Linked DNA regions of Homo sapiens: region 2 is linked to region 1. The links are contacts of gene promoters, found by promoter capture Hi-C in human tissues and cell types (Jung and others, 2019). All regions are on one chromosome and are shown on one strand. The core of a region is centred on a gene start or on the middle of the fragment in contact, and the rest is flanking DNA. Distances in the headings are between cores, read along the strand shown. Region 1 holds the start of CCDC167 (coiled-coil domain containing 167). Region 2 overlaps BTBD9 (BTB domain containing 9).

Region 1 (6,023 bases), core at 586-3,085:
CTTGGCAGTGTTTTTCAAATTGCAGTTCAACCTCCATTAAGGGGTCATGAAATAAACCTAAGAGGTGTCCTGCCACCAACTTGTTTTTGTTTATTTTTTTGAGATGGAGTTTCGCTCTTTCACCCATGCTGGAGTGCAGTGGCACGATCTCGGCTCACTGCAACCTCCGCCTTCCAGTTTCAAGTGTTTCTCCTGCTTCAGCCTCCCGAGTAGTTGGGTTTACAGGCGCCCACCACCACGCCCAGCTAATTTTTGTATTTTTAGTAGAGACGGGCTTTCACCACGTTGGCCAGGCTGGTCTCAAATTACTGACCTCGTGATCTGCCCAGCCTCCCAAAGTGCTGGGATTGAGAGGTAAAGCCAGCTGGACTTCCTGGGTTGAGTGGGGACTTGGAGAACTTTTCTGTCTAGCTAGACAATTGTAAACGCACCAATCAGCGTTCTGTGTCTAGCTAAAGGATTGTAAATGCGCCAATCAGCACTCTGTAAAAACCCACCAATCAGCGCTCTGTGTCTAGCTAAAGGATTATAATGCACCAATAAGCACTCTGTGTCTACCTAGGGATTGTAAATGCACCAGTCAGTGCTCTGTAAAAACGCACCAATCAGCGCTCTGTGTCTAGCTAAAGGATTGTAAATGCACCAATCTGCACTCTGTAAAAATGCACCAATCAGCACTCTGTGTCTAGCTAAAGGACTGTAAATGCACCAATCAGCACTCTGTAAAATGGACCAGTCAGTGCTCTGTAACAGGGGACAAATAAGGGAATAAAAGCTGGCCATCCCCCAGTCAACAGTGGCAACCCACTCAGGTCCCCTTCCATGATGTGGGAGCTTTGTTCTTTTGCTCTTCACAATAAATCCTGCTGCTGCTCACTCTCTGGGTCCGTGCTACCTTTAAGAGCTGTAACACTCACCGTGAAGTCAGTGAGACCAAGAACCCACCTGAAGGAACCAACTCCAGACACAGGATTACAGGCCTGAGCCACCGTGCCCGACTTTGTTTTTTTTTAATTAAATAGGCAAGAATACAAAATAACAGAGTGCATTACAGGAGGTAAAGGTACTTACTGTGAAACTTTGGTTTTGGTTTCATGGGTAACTGGGCCATGGTATAAAATACATTTTTTTATCGTAGGGTCACAGTCAAAACATTTCAAAGGCCGTGGGTCTATGGTGTACAGTATAGTACGATTACAACAATGTAAAATACTGTGTGTGAGGCCAAGCCTGGGAGGAATAAACAGAAGCAAAGAGGAACTGATAAAGTTGGTAGAATAAAGGATGCTGCTTCTCAGTTATATGTTTTCTGTGATGTTTGTAGGTTGTTCTTACAATAAAACAAACCAAAAAAAAAAAAAAAAAGAAGTCAAGACACAAAGGAGAAATAACAATAGAGGGCCATTATCAGATTCCATTGGCCGAGAAGCTCAAGGCTCCAGCACCGGCCTTGAAGGATGGACAGACTTTGAATGGGGGGCGTGGCCTAAACAGGGACGGGGTTGTTGCTGAAACACAAAACACACTGAAAGAGAACATGGGGTTAAAAAAGGCTCTCAGTGATGCAAAGCGGCTTAAAACTGGGGAAGAAAGGGGCAGGTCTACTCCCGGGCTGTACATTCTGCCTCCCTGTACCGACTTTTCCACCCTCCACCCATCTAGGCTGAGGTCTCAAGCTAGAGGTTGCCCCTCATAAACATGTCCGCACCAAGCCGGCCGCGCCCCTCAACAAGATGGCGACGGCAGCAGCCCCACCTCCCGCTGACTCGGTGGCCAATGAGGGAGAAGCACGAAGACTTGAGCATGCGCACATAGCGACTTGGTGGGCGCGTCCAGTGATGACTGGGGGATCCCGGCAAGTAACATGACTAAAAAGAAGCGGGAGAATCTGGGCGTCGCTCTAGAGGTGAGGGGAAAAGTGGGGGTTGGGCCACCTCGTTAGTTGCCTTCTCCTGGCCGCGGGATAAGGGATAGGCTGGGCTATAGATAGGAGGAGGAGCCAAGCGTAGGATGAGAGGGCGACGCGGTTTGGGGAGAGGGACGGGAGGGGTGAGAAGGCCCACGGGGTTCCCGGAGGACAGGGAGCCCGAGGAGGTGCCGGATGGGCGAACCAGACTCTCTGGAGAGGGCATCTCCAGAGAGGAAGAGACATGGAAGTGAAGGGGAGCCCCAAAGACGGCCTGGCATAGAAGTGAGGGAACTCAAAGCGGGGGACACAGAACAAAAGGGATGGGTACAGAGGTGAGGGAGACCCCAGAGAAATAGGGACCTGTAGAATCTAAGGAGAACTCCCAAAGGGCTAGGACTCAAAGATGAGGGAGCCCATTCTGGTGTATATTATTAATGGTTTAAATATCCTCTAAAAGGGGAAATTTTTCCTCCGGAGTATGGAAGCTTGTACCTTCAAAATTACTTTGGGAATATGTAAAGAGAATTCTGGAATTGGTGATGTCACTGAATGGCTTAAAAATAATTTGCTGCATATAGAAGGGAAAGAAAACATACATACTGAGCAACCGCTATGTGCTACTTTCATTGCATTGTTAATCCTCACTGCAAGCCTGTGAGGTTTGTACAGATGAGGAAATTGAGGTTCCAGGTGGAACCCAGGCTGAGATGGTGGAAGTGGTGGAGCCTGGGAATCAAGCACAGGTGGTCTTCCTGGAAATTCATCTTGCTTCCCCTGTTTTCCTTCCCTTAGGGCATCCTCCCGGAGGTTGCAGGAGAGGTACAGGGTCATAGTCTTCTTCAGGCTTACTAGTGAGTTCAGTGATTCTCAAACTTTAGCATGCATAGAGTCACAGGGCTTGTTAAAAATGGAGAGTTGAACTCTTCCCACACCCCGAGTAATTCAGTAGGACTTTGATGTGCATTCTTAACAAGGAATCTGCTTTTTTTTTTTTAAGACAGAGTCTCGCTCTGTTGTCCAGGCTGAAGTGCAGTGGCGTGATCTCGGCTCACTGTAAACTCTGCCTTCTGGGTTCAAGCGATTCTCGTGCCTCAGCCTCCCGAGTAGCTGGGATTACAGGCACGTGCCACCATGCCTGGCTAATTTTTGTATTTTTGTAGAGACGGGGTTTCACCGTGTTGGCCAGGCTGGTCTTGAACTCTTGACCTCAAGTGATCTGCCCGCCCGCCTTAGCCTCCCAAAGTGCTGGGATTACAGGCATGAGCCACCACAGCCGGCCAGAATCTGCATTTTTTTTTTTTTTACAAGCCACACACACCCCATGGTGATGTGGGTAGTTTTAGTGGCATCCCTTGAGAAATATTGGCCCACTTGGTAGGAAAAAGGTTGATGGAAATGTGAAGAGGATGGTTTATGAGTGGTGACTGAGATGGTACTTTGTGGCGGGAAGAACATAGACTTTGTAACCTGCATTAGGGTACAATAAGCTGCAGTAACAGAGAAACTCCAAAACTCAGTGGCTTCAAGAACAAGAAAGTGAGTTTTTTTCTAACAGGCTAGAGCAAGGGGCAGGAGATGTCTGCAAATGGTCAGATAGTAACTATTTTAGAAGAGACATGGTCTCTTCTAGAGAGCCAAATGGTCTGGGTTGCAACTACAGTTGATCCTCATTATTCACAGATTCCACATTTGCGAATTTCCCTAATGGCTAAAATGTATTTGTAACCCCAAAATCAGTACTCACAGTGCTTTTGTGGCAAATGCAAAGCAGTGGGAAAAAAATTGAGTCGCTCGCAGTCCATGTTCTCAGCTAAAGTTGAACAGGTGATGATGCCCTGCCTTGTTTCAGCTGTCCTACTGTAAACAAGGGTCCTTATTGTGTTCTATTTAGTGCCCTGTTTTTGTTTTGTTTTGTTTTTTTCATTCTCATGTTTTTTATTGGTATTTCGCTGTGTTTTGCTTTTGAGACAGAATCTCACTCTCGCCCAGGCTGGAGTGTAGTGGTGCACTCTTGGCTCTGCAACCTCCACCTCCCATTCAAGTGTTCACCCCCACCTTCCCCCGACACAGCCTCTCTAGTAGCCAGGATTAGACCACCACCACATCCGGCTAATTTTTGTATTTTTGGTAAAGACGGGGGTCTTGCCATGTCGGCCAGGCTGGTCTCGAACTCCTGACCTTAGGTGATCTGCCCACCTCGGCCTCCCAAAGTGCTGGGATTAGAGGTGTGAGCCACTGCCTGATTTTGCTGTTTAAAGTGCCCCCGATCCCCGACCCCCGACCCCAAGCATAGGGCTGAAGTGCTGTCTGGCATTCCTAAATCCAAGAAGGCTGTGATGTGTTGTAGAAGAAAACAGGTTTTTTAGATAAACTGTTCAGGCATGATATAACTCATGATGTAACAGCACGTATAGTGCTGTTGGTTGTGAGTCCAGTGTTAATGAATCAACAATATATATTGAATAAGGTCACTTTAAACAGAATCACACATGAAACAAGGTTGCAAAAATGTTGTGTCCATAGGCTTGCAGGAACCTCACCTGGTTTGGTATTTGCTAATTCAATATTAGAGGCAACTTTATAGGACATAGCTACCAGGAACAACAAGAACCAACTGTATTCAGGCTAAGGTAGGAGTATGTAAATGAAGGAATATGTAAATAAGTGGGTGTGTCAGTGTTCCACTAAAGCTTTATCTGCAAGAACAGTCCTTAGACCATTTGGCCACAGGGCTTAGTTGCCAACTCCTGGTCTAGAGTACCAGGTCTATGGTGGTTCTGCCAGATTCCCTTCCTCTGTGGCTTCACCATCTCTTGAGATCTTGTCACCTTATCAGTGGAACCGGGGCATACCCCACTGATGTGTCCACCGGCAGAGAAAGAGGAGAATGGAGGAAGCACACCCACTGTCCTGGGCCCAAACTGTCCACTTTCCATTGGCAAGAACTAAAACCCCACCTGACTGCAAGGGATCAGGGAAATGCGTTCACCAGTCAGGAGGCCACATAGCCAGCTACTGTTTGCTTACTATGGAGGAAGAGACCAGTGTGTTTTCACAGACAGCCTGTAGTCTCACTACAGATGGCACCTCACCTCACAGTGTGGTTGTGAGGATTAAATGAGACATTGCGTTAAGTGCCCAGCACGTGCCTGGCACCGGATTGGTAATCAATACATGGTAGCTCCAGCCTTTGTATTTCTTTTGCATCCTTCCACCATGGCTAAGTCAAACTCGTTCTTGGGCATTCGTTCACTCATCTATAACATGAAGGACTTGAATTTCACCAGGGGTTACAAACTCCTTGACTATGGCCCAAATACAGATCACAGATGTCTTCTGTTTGGCTGACAGACTTTTAAGTTTTTATTTTATTTTATTTTATTTTTAGACAGGGTCTTGCTCTGTTGCCCAGGCTGTAGTGCAGCGGCATGATCTCAGCTCACTGCAGCCTCCAGCCTCCCGGGTTCAAGCAATTCTCGTGCCTTAGCCTCCCGAGAAGCTGAGACTACAGGCGTGCACCACCATGCCCAGCTAAGTTTTGTATTTTTAGTAGAGACGGGGTTTCACCATGTTGGCCAGCTGGTCTTGAACTCCTGACCTCAAGTGATCCGCCCGCCTCGGCCTCCCAAAGTGCTGGGATTACAGGCGTGAGCCACCACACTCGGCCGGATTTTTACGTTTTTAAACTTGGTGGGGCATGTATTCTCCAAGTGCCTTATACTGGGGCAGATTCCATTGTTTTACCCTCTCCATACCACGGTAGATGTTTATATTTGCTATCTTGGTCCCTAAGTTTACTTTTTGCTTGGATATTCGAAGATTTGACATCTGTAACCGTGTGCCTTGGAAAAAGCCTGACATCTGGCTGGCTGTCTCCCCACCTTGCTTCTCAGTTGCCCCCAGCGGGTCTGAGTATTGAATGTGCACTGATGCTCAGTAGCAGTAGATATTGTCCTCTTATTAAAAGTTGTGTGCTCAGAGCCAATGAAGTGGTGATTTAATCAAAAATGTTTGTTAATCTGACGAGTGCAATAAAACCCCCACAAGTGAGTGATCTCAGCACCTGCAAACAGTCTCCACTTGTAATGAAGCAATTACCAAGCAGGCAGCACTC
Region 2 (5,995 bases), core at 3,350-5,849, 1.0 Mb before region 1:
CAAAACCATTCTTCTCTCCTGGGTATCCAGGTCTGTGATGGGAGGTTTGCTGTGAAGGTCTCTGAAATGCCTTGGAGGCATTTTCCCCATTGTTTTGGCTATTAACATTTGCTCTTCTTTACTTATGCAAATTTCTGCAGCCAGCTTTTATATCTCCCCAGAAAGTGGGTTTTTCTTTTCTACTACAGGGCCAGGCTGCAAATTTTCCAAACTTTTACACTCTTATTCCCTTTTAAATATTAGTTCCAGTTTCAGATAATCTTTTTGTTCACACATATGAGCATGCACGATTAGAAGCAGCCAGGCCATATCTTGAATGCTTTGCTGCTTAGAAATTTCTTCCTCCAGAAGAAATCATCTCCCTCAAGTTCAAAGTTCAACAGATTCCTAAAGCAGGAGCACAGTGCTGCCAGTCTCTTTGCTAAAGCATAGCAAGAGTGACCTTTACTCCATTTCCCAGTAAGTTCCTCATCTCCATCTGAGACCACCTCAGCCTGTACTTTATTGTCCATATCACTATCAGCATTTTGGTCAAAACCATTCAACAAGTCTCTAGGAAGTTCCAAACTTCATCTTCCTGTCTTCTTCTGAGCCCTCCAAATTGTTCCAGTCTCTGCCTGTTACCCAGTTCCAAAGTGGCTTCCACATTCTCTGTATCTTTATAGCAGTACACCACTACCTTGGTACCAATTAACTGTTTTAGTCCATTTTCACACTGCTATAAAGATACTACCTGAGACCGGGTAATTTTTACAGGACAGAGGTTTAATTGACTCATAGATCCACATGGCTGGGGAGGCCTCAGGAAACTTACAATCATGGCAGAAGGGGAAGCAGGCACCTTCTTTACAAGGTTGCAGGAGAGAGAGCGAGCAAGAGCAGGGAAAACTGATTATAAAACCATCAGATCTCGTGAGAACTCACTCACTGTCATGAGAACAGTGTAGGGGAAACTACCCCTGTGATCCAACTAACTTTCTCCCTCGACACATGGGGATTACAATTCAAGATGAGGTTTGGGTGGGGACACAGCCAAACCATATCAGTGCTGATCGTGCCATCATGATATCCCCCATGTGACAAAATATTAAAATAATAAACCATTCTAGTGCCTATGTCAGTCTTAAATAAATTTTACTAAGGGTGAGTCATCTCAAAGGGCCTGATCACCCAGACACTAACCAGCTAGTCAGTTTTGCTGGCCTTCCTTTGTTTGACACTACCAGCTACTCCAGATACAGAGAGATAAAGAGAGGAAGGAAGGACAAAAGGAAGGAATGAATTATTCTGATCTCTGTTGACTCCTTTATTGTGAGTCTTGAAAAACTTAGCTAGAGGGCAGAGTTCAAAACTCTTTGTGGGTTAATTTTATAATGTTTATCAAGCAAGGGTGGCTTCAAGAAGTGACTGAATTTGTTACTTAAATATTGCCAAAATGAATATCAGCTATGGCAAAACTAAAACCAGTTTCAGTTTCTAAATGGATAGAACTAAATAACCCTATGTTATTTAGTCATTGTGTACATTTTTCAGAAGACTCATAATGTTGGACTTACTGGACTACAGTTCTGCATTAAAATCATGTTCTATAAGGGACAACTTAGATAATTTTGTGGTCAAGGTAGCTCATTCATTTGTTAAATAAACATTGATTTAATTCTTGCTACGTGCTTACTGTTCTAATACTAATCCATTTCTCTACTTTCAGGCAAGACTACTCAGTTTTTTTCTGGGATTTTTTTAACTTCTTATGAATTCTAAGGAGAAGAAAAATTTTTCAGTATGTCTTACATTTCATAATATGTAATAATTAGTTTTTTCCTGATACTGTTCTATCATTTGGAAATGGAAACTCAGCTAAAAACCACTTTCCTTTAATTAAACCTTTTGTATACTTAAAAATTGTTTGAAGTCACCTCTCAGATTTTAAAATCTTGGCTAGTTACTCTTATTTCTGTCACTTTCTTATATTTTATATTTAATTTATAAATTAATATTTATTGATAGTGATTAGTAATTGCGGAGAAATCAAAATAATTAAAAGTTCACCCTCTGCTGTCTAAGAAATTTCTCTAATTGGGGAGAAAAGACATAAGTATGTCCTGTAACCTAATAATTGAAGAGATATCTCAAAGCAGCTTATTGACAAATGAATAGTGTAGTCAGAAATACCAAAGGATTCCACATAGGCAGCAGAACACAGTGGTTTAAGAGCACAGACTTTGGAGCCACACTGCCTGGGTGTGAACCGTGAATCTGCCATTCATTAGCAATATGTCTGAGCAGTTGTTTAGCTTTTCTGTGCCTCTGTTTCCCCATCTGTTAAATATAGATAATAACAGTACCTGACTTAGAGCATTATTGTGAGATTTAAATAAAGTTAGCTACTATCTATAAAGTGCCTGCTAATGATACAGTGCCTGCTAATGATAATGAAAAAAATACTGTAGGCTAAAATGTTGTTGGAAGAACTTATGGTGGGATTAAGCAGATATTTGAAGGGCAGATAGCATTTGGATAATCTTAGAGGAGGGGAGAGACCTGTTCATGCAAGACAGGGAGACTACAAGGTGTGTAGAGGGCACTGAGTGGATTGGTTTGGTTGGGACAGAGCTCTCTGAAACAGGAGGGTTTGAAGGCAGGGCACAAGGGTAGTAGGCTTTGGCCCAACTCTCAGAGACTTCCAAACTTCTGAAAGTCCAAACTGTCTGGAGTTTGGATTTGATCTTTGTAAGTGTTATAGTACAAGCAATATTTTAATTTTAATATAAAATAGATTGCTAGATTGGTGGAGACGGTTGGTGAGTGGTGGCAGGGTGACCAGTTAGGATGTTATAGCACAGGGCTAGACTGGGGTAGTACAGTAAAAATGGAGAAGAAGAGGTGTCTGCAAGAGGTGTCATCATGGAAAATTCAAAGGATTTTGCCTGCCTCTATTTTTTTTAATGAGACGAAGTCCTGCTCTGTCACCCAGGCTGGAGTACAGTGGAGCGATCTCAACTCACAGCAACCTCCATCTTCTGGGTTCAGGTGATTCTCCTTCCTCAGCCTCCTGAGTAGCTGGGATTACAGGCACGTGCCACCACGCCTGGCTAATTTTTGTATTTTTAGTAGAGATGGTGTTTCACCATGTTGGCCAGGTTGGTCTCAAACTCCTGACCTCAGGTGATCCACCCGCCTCAGCTTCCCAAAGTGCTGGGATTACAGGCATGAACCACTGTGCCCAGCCCTGACTCTTTTTTTGAGCAGATTTCTCCTGCCTAGTATGCAGTCTCCCCACACTTGGTATCTTTCACTACAGAGGGAAAACTAGAATAGGGAGCTGTCTGTGGGTGGAATATCAGACTTTTCAGACATCGTTAGATTGAAAGGCCAATTGGAAATCCCTGACTGGTAGTTGGAAATGGATGGCTGAAACTCAAGAAGAAGGACTGATACTGAGAAGTCAGAACTGGAGTTAGATATATGGTCACCTCCTTAGAGCTAATATTTGAAGCCATGGGAAGCATCAAGATCTCCAAGAGAGGCAATGGGAAGAGCTGGGCTTATTTGTTGAAGAACATCTGGTTTGAAAGAATGTGGCAAAGCAGCCAAAGAACTGGGAGAAGACCCAGACGGACGTCAAAGAAGCATTTGCAAACAGAGCACATAGTCAGTGATGTCAGAGGCTGCAGAACAAACAGAATGAGCCTAAAATAGTTATTGAATCTGGCAATAAGAAGGCCATTAGTAATCTTATTAAGTGAAGTTTCAGTAGAGTATAGGGACTTTAATTTGAGAAGTATAAATGTGAAAGGAAGAAGAAATATAGAATAGCTCTAGTAGGTTCAAATTGTTGGTTTTTTGTTTTTTTGTTTTTTCTCAAAAAATGGCATATGTGTACATTTTCAGCCAGAGAGAGAAAAGCCAGTAGAGAACAAAGCCTTAGCAGGCACTGTTCTAAGCATTTGAAAGATTAGGGAGAGGGAGATGGAATGAACTGGCAAGGAGCTGGAGCAGATGGGAAGGATAAGACGGAGCCTGCGAGCTTAGCTTCAGAAAGGAGGAGGCCCACACTCGGGCAGTGGGATGTTGTCTTGTGCCTAGGACAGGGCATGACTGAAAAGAGGGAATAGGCTAGGTGTAAAAACTGATAACTTAGAAGTAGAGAGGAGGGGCTGGGTGTGGTAGCTCACACCTCTAACCCTAGCGCTTTGGGAGGCTGAGGCGGGTGGATCACCTGGGGTCAAGAGTTGGAGACCAGGCTGGCCAACATGGTGAAACCTGGTCTCTACTAAAAATACAAAAGTTAGCCAAGCATGGTGGCAGGCGCCTATAATCCCAGCTACTTGGAAGGCTGAGGCAGGAGAATTGCTTAAACGCAGGAGGCAGAGGTTGCAGTGAGCCAAGATCGTGCCATTGCACTCCAGCCTGGGTGACAAGAGCAAAACTCCATTTAAAAAAAAAAGAAGTAGTGAGGAGGTAGAAATGAGTGAATTCATAGTGCCTGAGGAGTTAAATTGTGTTACAGGTAAGCCTCCCACATCTGAAAATCTGAAATCTGAATGCTTCCTAATCTGAAACTTTTTGATGCTCAAAGGAAATTCTCAATGGAGCATTTGAGATTTCAGAATTTTAAATTTGGGATGTTCAACCAGTAAGTATAATGCAGATATTCTGAAATCTGAAAAAATCTGAAATGTGAATCACCTCTGGTCTGAAGCATTTCATATAAGGATACTCAACCTGTATTAAAGTAGAAAAGCTGCTAATAAGAATGGTAACAATGATGGTTAACATCTCCTGTGCTTCAAGCACTGTTTTAAATGTTTATATATATTATTTCATTTATTTCTTAAACTTGTAATAGTAAGGTACTATTTCCACATTTTGTAGATGGAGAAATTAAGGTAAAAAAGATTAACTGATTTTCCCTAAACCATACATTCAATAAAGGGCAGAGTGGCGATTTGAACTGAGGTGGTGTGACTTTACAGGTCATATCTTTTTTTTTTTTTAATTATTTTCAGTTTTTGTGGGTACACAGTGTGTGTAAGGTCACGATCTTAACTGTTGGGCTCCTGTGTCCCTGGCCCTGGGAAATGAATGGCAGATTTAAGACACATATGAATATTTAGATCATTTATGGTGGGAATGGTGCCTAGGAAGCAACCCATATCTTTTTTCTTTTTTTCTTTTTGTCTGAGACAAGGTCTCACTCTGTCAAGCAGGCTGGAGTGCAGTGACACAATTATAGCTCACTGTGGCCTCTTTCTACTGAGCTCAAGCAATTCTCCCATCTCAGCTTCCCAAGTAGCTGGGACTACAAGCATGCGCCACCAGGCCTGGCTTTTTTTTAAATTTTTTATTTTTAATATTTAGTAGAGATGTGGTCTCTCTGTGTTGCCCAGGCTGGTCTCGAACTCTTGAGCTAAAGCGCTCCTCCCACCTCAGCCTTACAAAGTGCTGGGATTACAGGCATGAGCCACCATGCCTGGCCTTTTAAATATTTAATGGCAGTAAATTAATTTTTTAAAACTAACTTCCTTTTTGGTTATTCTACAAGTAATATATGGTTATTGAAGAAAACTTAGTAAGTAAAGTATAAATTTTAACAAAATCATCCTAAACCCAGAGATAACCAAAGTTGACAATTTTGTGTATTTTTTGTTTGTTTGTTTTTTTGTTTTGAGATGGAGTCTTGCTCTGTCTCCCAGGATGGAGTGCAGTGGTGTGATCTCGGCTCACTGCAACCTCTGCCTCTCGGGTTCAAGTGATTATCCTGCCTCAGCCTCCTGAGTAGCTGGGACGACAGATGCGTGTCACCACACCCAGCTAATTTTATTTCATTTTATTTTTAGTAGAAATGGGGTTTTGCCATGTTGGCCAGGCTGGTCTGGAATTCCTGACCTCAGGTTATCTACCCACCTCAGCCTCCCAAAGTGCTGGGATTACAGGTGTGAGCCACTGTGCCTGGCCGACAATTTTGTGTATTTTCATGTGATTTTTTTTTTCT

What was found. Contacts are between HindIII fragments. The study calls those that stand out against the background at their distance.
Region 2: a fragment that was not itself captured here is called in contact with the fragment with the promoter of CCDC167 in region 1 in 1 of the 25 tissues and cell types used here (dorsolateral prefrontal cortex).

What each region holds. Positions count from the first base shown.
Region 1 is chr6:37,495,705-37,501,727 of GRCh38, reverse strand. CCDC167 (coiled-coil domain containing 167) reads left to right here and starts at 1,835. Exons shown (of 4, transcript NM_138493.3): 1 at 1,835-1,906. The coding sequence starts at 1,865. RefSeq lists an enhancer at 1,643-1,842. The HindIII fragment of the contact is 4,936 bases long and covers 1-3,497 here.
Region 2 is chr6:38,520,135-38,526,129 of GRCh38, reverse strand. The region is part of intron 6 of BTBD9 (BTB domain containing 9); the gene reads left to right. Among named protein-coding and RNA genes, the nearest start is that of BTBD9-AS1, 42 kb to the right of the region's middle. The HindIII fragment of the contact is 5,406 bases long and covers 1,897-5,995 here.